Regions from separate parts of the Homo sapiens genome. Here region 1 is linked to region 2. Evidence: promoter capture Hi-C in human tissues and cell types (Jung and others, 2019). All regions are on one chromosome and are shown on one strand. The core of a region is centred on a gene start or on the middle of the fragment in contact, and the rest is flanking DNA. Distances in the headings are between cores, read along the strand shown.

The links. Contacts are between HindIII fragments. The study calls those that stand out against the background at their distance.
Region 1: a fragment that was not itself captured here is called in contact with the fragment with the promoter of KCNA4 in region 2 in 4 of the 25 tissues and cell types used here (H1 embryonic stem cells, dorsolateral prefrontal cortex, liver and 1 more).

What each region holds. Positions count from the first base shown.
Region 1 is chr11:29,938,409-29,941,108 of GRCh38, forward strand. No RefSeq gene overlaps it. Among named protein-coding and RNA genes, the nearest start is that of LINC01616, 43 kb to the right of the region's middle. The HindIII fragment of the contact is 4,260 bases long and covers 1-2,700 here.
Region 2 is chr11:30,015,583-30,018,542 of GRCh38, forward strand. It overlaps KCNA4 (potassium voltage-gated channel subfamily A member 4), which reads right to left and starts at 1,448. Exons shown (of 2, transcript NM_002233.4): 1 at 990-1,448. The HindIII fragment of the contact is 10,149 bases long and covers 1-2,960 here.

The sequences.
Region 1 (2,700 bases), core at 97-2,596, 77 kb before region 2:
AAGGTTCCATTTTAGATTAATTTTCTTCCTACATTTGAAGATTATACATTATGTATAATTTATTTTATAATTTATAATAAAAAATAACATACATAAAATTCTAGAAAACTTAAAAGATGGTTACAGAAGCTCCAACCATTTCTATCTGGAGAAACTTAACTTCGCATACTACAAAAAAAAAATCTCTTTTACAAACCATCCACCCCCTCCCCCACATAAATATATAACTTCTCGTCTAATTGCCACATCATTTTAAAATTTTAATACATTTTCATTCCAAATTAAATTTTAACTGTAAGCACTGGATGTGGAAAGCCCCTGTGTAAGTTGTAGTGAGAGATTTAGATCTGAACATGGGCTTTACCTGCAAAGAGCTAAATGTAAAAATAGAGTGATAAAAAAGAATCTCTAAAACTCATATCTTAGAATTATATCCCTTTGTTGATCGAACCCCCCAATGGAGAAACTACCCATATTATATACAGAAAGTAGCTTCTGGGAAAAACAGAAAGGTTAAGTCAATTTTATCATCCTTATAAATGATAAAGTTATATATATATATATGTATATGTGTATATATATATGTATATGTGTGTGTGTGTGTGTGTGTATATATATATATATATATATATATATTGAATACCAACCAAGGGCAGACTAAATATATTCTATTACATTTTCCTGCAGAATTTCCATTAAAAGTACAAGAGAAAATGTATCTATCCACAAAGGAATCTAGCAGTAAAGGAAAAATGCAGTACCTTTGTGTAGAACACAGGGTCTTGAAATATCTGACCCCCATATTTTTGATCTCATAAAGCAGGAAAATGTTGAGGACAGGAGAATTCCTGCTGAGAACAAGAGAGCGACAGAGAGTTCTCTACTCACACAGTTTGGGTGGACTCTTCTCAGGAGCCAGGAGGTCTTCTACTGCAATGATCTAACCTCTGCTGGCCCCCTAACCACTGACTCACTTATCCACAACAATAATTGATTTCTCTACTATAAATGCAGCTAAAGGAAAAGACAGGAAAGGAGTTTTTAAGTTCATTTTAAGTAAATATTTCCAAAGAGAAAAGTGAAGTATAAAGTCTATTTCCTCCCCTACCTCTTTCTCTCTGTCCCCTCTCCCCTTCTCTTTCTCTCTATCAGTCTCAGACACAAAAGCTCAGATACTATTTCACATGTTTTTTCTCTGAAGCCAAATAATTTAAGAGCCATGTGCAGCCACACAGAGAGTCATAAAGGTGATAATGATGATATCTTCCTATAAGTCATGTAGGTTTGAAGCTTCCACAGCCCTTTAGAAGCTCACTGAAACACTGATTGAATGGAATGTGTATGTGACTAAAGAGAGAATCACAGGTTTGGTAGTTAAGTGGATTCTCAAATCAGGACAAGGGGAGACTTACATTTCGGCCATCATACTTAACAGTCATGTGCACTTGGGCTAGTTCTTTATCTTCTATAAGCTTTCATTCTCTCTCTTTTAGGTGAAGTGAGGACAATTATACTTACCTTATAGCATTATTGCAAGGTATGCTGCAGACAGTGGTATCACAGCATCTAGAGCCCCATATCTATAATGTAATAACTGCTCAATAAATGTTTTTTTTTAAAGAAACAAGCAAATGCAATATAAGGAAGATTTCTTAAATCTGCTGATATCCTTTTTCTGCTTTGGCAAGTAGATATTGGTGGCTGAGGGTCACAGTGACTTTTCAGCATCAACCTAAGTCAGAGCTGCAGGTTTAGAAGGATTCAATACCAGACTGAATATCTGCCCCAGAACCTGTTTTTTTCCCCCTTCGTTCTTTCCTTCCTTACTTCTTTTATAAAAATCTACATTGAGTAACAACTGTGGTTATATTGTGCTACAGGTTTATGATAGAGAAATAATAATACAGTTAATATTTCAGAGAAGTCCCGGTCTAGCTGGGAAAAGGGAGAAGTCAAATGGTAGTCATAAAATAGGAAATCAGTGTTAGGACAGGTATGTTCTAAGGTGTTTTAAAACATCAAAGGGAGGTCAGCTGAATTGGATCGGGAGATTGAGGGACAGTCTTTGCAACGATGATGATTAAGAAGACCCCAGCCAAAACACATGGACATTCAAAGCTTCTGCCTATACAACACATAACACACTCAGCATAAAATGAGCCTTAAGGCCACGTGTATGTGAGGAACTACTTTCTGGTTTGGCTCAGAATCTTCACTATCAGATTGTCAGGTCAGTACTCCCAGTACTTCAGGTAGCTAAGTATAAAAATGCATGAAAAAGTTATTTAATTCAGAGATTTATGAAGTCCACAAAAGGTTTTGTTGAGAATGACTGTGTTCTCGCTGTGAAATAAGAATGACCTACATTTTACTAGAGAGCTGAAAAAGAAAAACTCATAAAACAAGCTACAAAAGATTTACAGTGTGATCCTGTCAAATTTCACCTCTCTCTTCTCTAAGGAACTAATGAAAATGCTTAGCAGACCAATGTTTCAGCAAGGTTTCCATTTTTCTTCTAGTATGGTCCACATTTTTCTGTTCCACTCTGTTCCTTATTTGCCAGCCTAAGCTGGTGTTACTTTCTTGAATTGGGGTTGTTACTACTATATGATTTTTCAATCTCTATGAATGTGACAGCATTTACTTAGTTTATTATATTTGCAGAAACTAGAACTATTATGTGCTTAGGTGCACACCAAA
Region 2 (2,960 bases), core at 198-2,697:
TCCACCCTACAAGTAGCAAATTGCCTTCCTTTTAATCATCTACTAGTTACTTCACTATCCCTGATCTAGAAAGAAAGGGAGAGAGAAAGAAAAGAAGAGAAAAGAAAAATCATTCCTCCCAGCAAATCAGACTGGTTTAAAATCTCTCTTCTTTCTCAAGGTACTCTTGTTAGGAGAATCTATTCAAGCCAATTCCCAGGAGCCTTTATGAGAGAGATCTTTGCAGAGGAATTTGTCTTCTTCTTTAACACCATTAAACTAATAGGATTTTGCAGACTACCTATTCCCCAATCCCGGCGCCCCCAAACAACAGCCAAGCATCCCGCCCCTCCTCCTCTCACCCCTCCAACAACAAGGCTGTTCGTCTCTCAGTGCTAATTCCTGCAACTGTGTCACTGTCAGGGTGGTACCTGAACCTTAGAGAGAGAGAGAGAGAGAAAGAGAGAGAAACTGAGAGAGGGAATCAGAAAAGCCACCACCGTGAGAAATATACACTTCAACGCACGCCATTTATGCAGCCCCTATGTATGTTGCTCAAATGCTCGGAAAATGCACGCAAATCCAAACGTTGGAAGAGGCAGCAATTCAGACCCGTTCACCGGCTGTTCCCAAAAGAAGGGAACCGGTGCGGCTGGGAGGAGGCGAAACGATGCTAAATCTTAACCCCCCTCTCGTTGGGAAACGACATCTTTAATCGCGCCCTCGCCTCCAGACCTCGGTTCCCGCTCCAGCACGTTAAGCAGGGCGCACTCACCGCATCCCCGGGTTTGGGAAAATAACAACTGTTGGCCCCCCGGAGCGCCGCGCAGCATCCGCACCTCCCTTCTCCCACCTCCTGGTTTATTTTTAACCGCCTTCCATTCATGCCCTTCTGTCACATTCCCGATATTATTTATCCCTCAAATGTCCACTGTTTCTTAACAGCCAAAATAAGAAGGTAGAGGAAAGATACAAAAAAAAAAAAAAAAAAAAAAAGGTATCATACTTACCGTTCCCCGGCGGGGCGAAAAATAAAAATAAAGAAAATCCACCGGCTGGCTTGTTTTTCCCCCTCAAGCTGCAACAGCTGGAGGAGGGGAAGAATGATCCTGGGTGGGGGGCGGGGGGTGGTAAAAGGAATCACTCGGGTTTGGCAGGTGGAGGCTCCAAATATCCACGGAACAAGTTCTGTTGCCTGGCCCGAGGGGTGCACAGAGTCCTCGCGGCTGGAGCCTGGGGGTGGGGGTTGGGGCTGCCCCAGAGAAGACCCCAAGACTCCTGGTTCCTCTGGAGTTCAGCACAGGAGGGATTGCCTGGGAAAGGAAGTCAAGGTTCCCCCGAAAAGAAACAAAATCCTAGACAGCAGCGATCACTTGTTAAGCCCGAATTCCTCCTCCAACATCCATCCCTCTCTCGCTCTCGCTGGCTGCGGGAGCAGCACACGCCTCCCCTGGCCGCGAACGCGCTCTGGGCGGGGGCGGGGCCAGGGCCGAACCGAGGGTGTGGCGTTCGCGACGGTCGCCAGGGGCGCCTCCCGGCGCGGCGGGGCGGGTGCAGTCACGACGCCGCGACTCCCCGCACCCCGGCTGGGCCCCCCGACTCCCAGGATCTGGGATCGATTCCAGGAGTCTTTGGCTGTGGTCCCCACAGGCGAGGAGCAAATCCTGGAGAAGTGTCCCCGTTGGGGCCGGAATAGGGGTTTCGACGGCAGCGCGGGAGTCCCCAGAGGGCTTGGGAGCGGGGAGCTCCAATGGGAGGTGCAGTCCCGAAAATGGGGTCCTCTGGGACATCTCCTCTACCTAACTTGCTTTCTCTATATCTCCCCTCGAGCCCCGAGCCCCGTCTTCTTTTCCCCACCCCATCCCCTCCCAAAGCGGGTTTGTTGGGTTGGGAGCCGGGTGCATCTCCGGCGAGGCCACGGGCGGGGAGCCCTCCTGTGCCTGCCAGAGCGCCCAGATCCCTCAGTCTCCGTCTCCTTTGCACACAGGAGTTGGGAGGCTTCAGCGCCGGGGTTGGGCCTCAGGGGCGCGGAGGAGACCGACTTTCAACCTGTATTCAATCCCGGGCAGGGGAATGTTACAGAAATTGGAATCAGGCCCAGGCTAGGGGCTGCGCACAGGAGGCAGCAGTTCTAGGGGAGGAGGGTTGGAGAGATGAGTAAGTTGCAGGGTGGGCCAGGGGCTGAGGGCTTTGGAAGGCGGGGGAAGAGCCCGCAGCCAACCTGTTGCTGCAAAAACAAATACGGCTCTGGTATCGACTCCCTGAGGGCTCTTTGGATCCTTCAGGACAGAAATCAAGGGATATCGCAGCAAAAAGCAAGTTTTTTTGGTTTTCTTTCTTTCTTTCTTTTAATTAAAGCTTGTGCGCACAAGGGAGCTAACACCAAGAAAAAAAAAAGTGGGCTGTTCCTCGAAGTCAGGGTGTGGGTTTCTTTTACGGGCCTCTCCCGTAAGGGGAAATAAGGAGAACTATAGACAGGGCATGTAGAGGTGGAGTTTTTCTGGTGCATGCATGGTGGTTTAACATGCTTCTTCATAGGACGTATGTATCATTAGCATCTTAAATCTCCACCTCTGGGAAAGATTTTTTGCATTAAATTAAGGAAAAGGTCACTATGAGTTGAAAGTTAAACCTAGCCGCCGCGCATGCCAGGGCCTCGGGCAAGTCCCTGGTCCCCTAAAGCCGAAACTTCTGGTTAATAGCTTCTTGAGCTTTTCATGCTAATTGGCTGGAGTTACAGTTTGAGGAAGGGTCTCTCCTTGTTTCTTGTTTATTTCTTCGGACCACATCAAAACAGGAAAGTAGACAGTTTGCCTGTCTCAGGCTTGCCAGAATCAACCGGGCGAGAGGTTTGGCTCCCGGGAGGACTCTATCTTAGTGATCTCTCCCACTGCCCACCTCCATTTAAAAAAAAAAAAAAAAAAAAAAGGGTTTTGCTGTCCATCTCCACCCCACTCCCACACACGCGAGCGCGTGCGCAC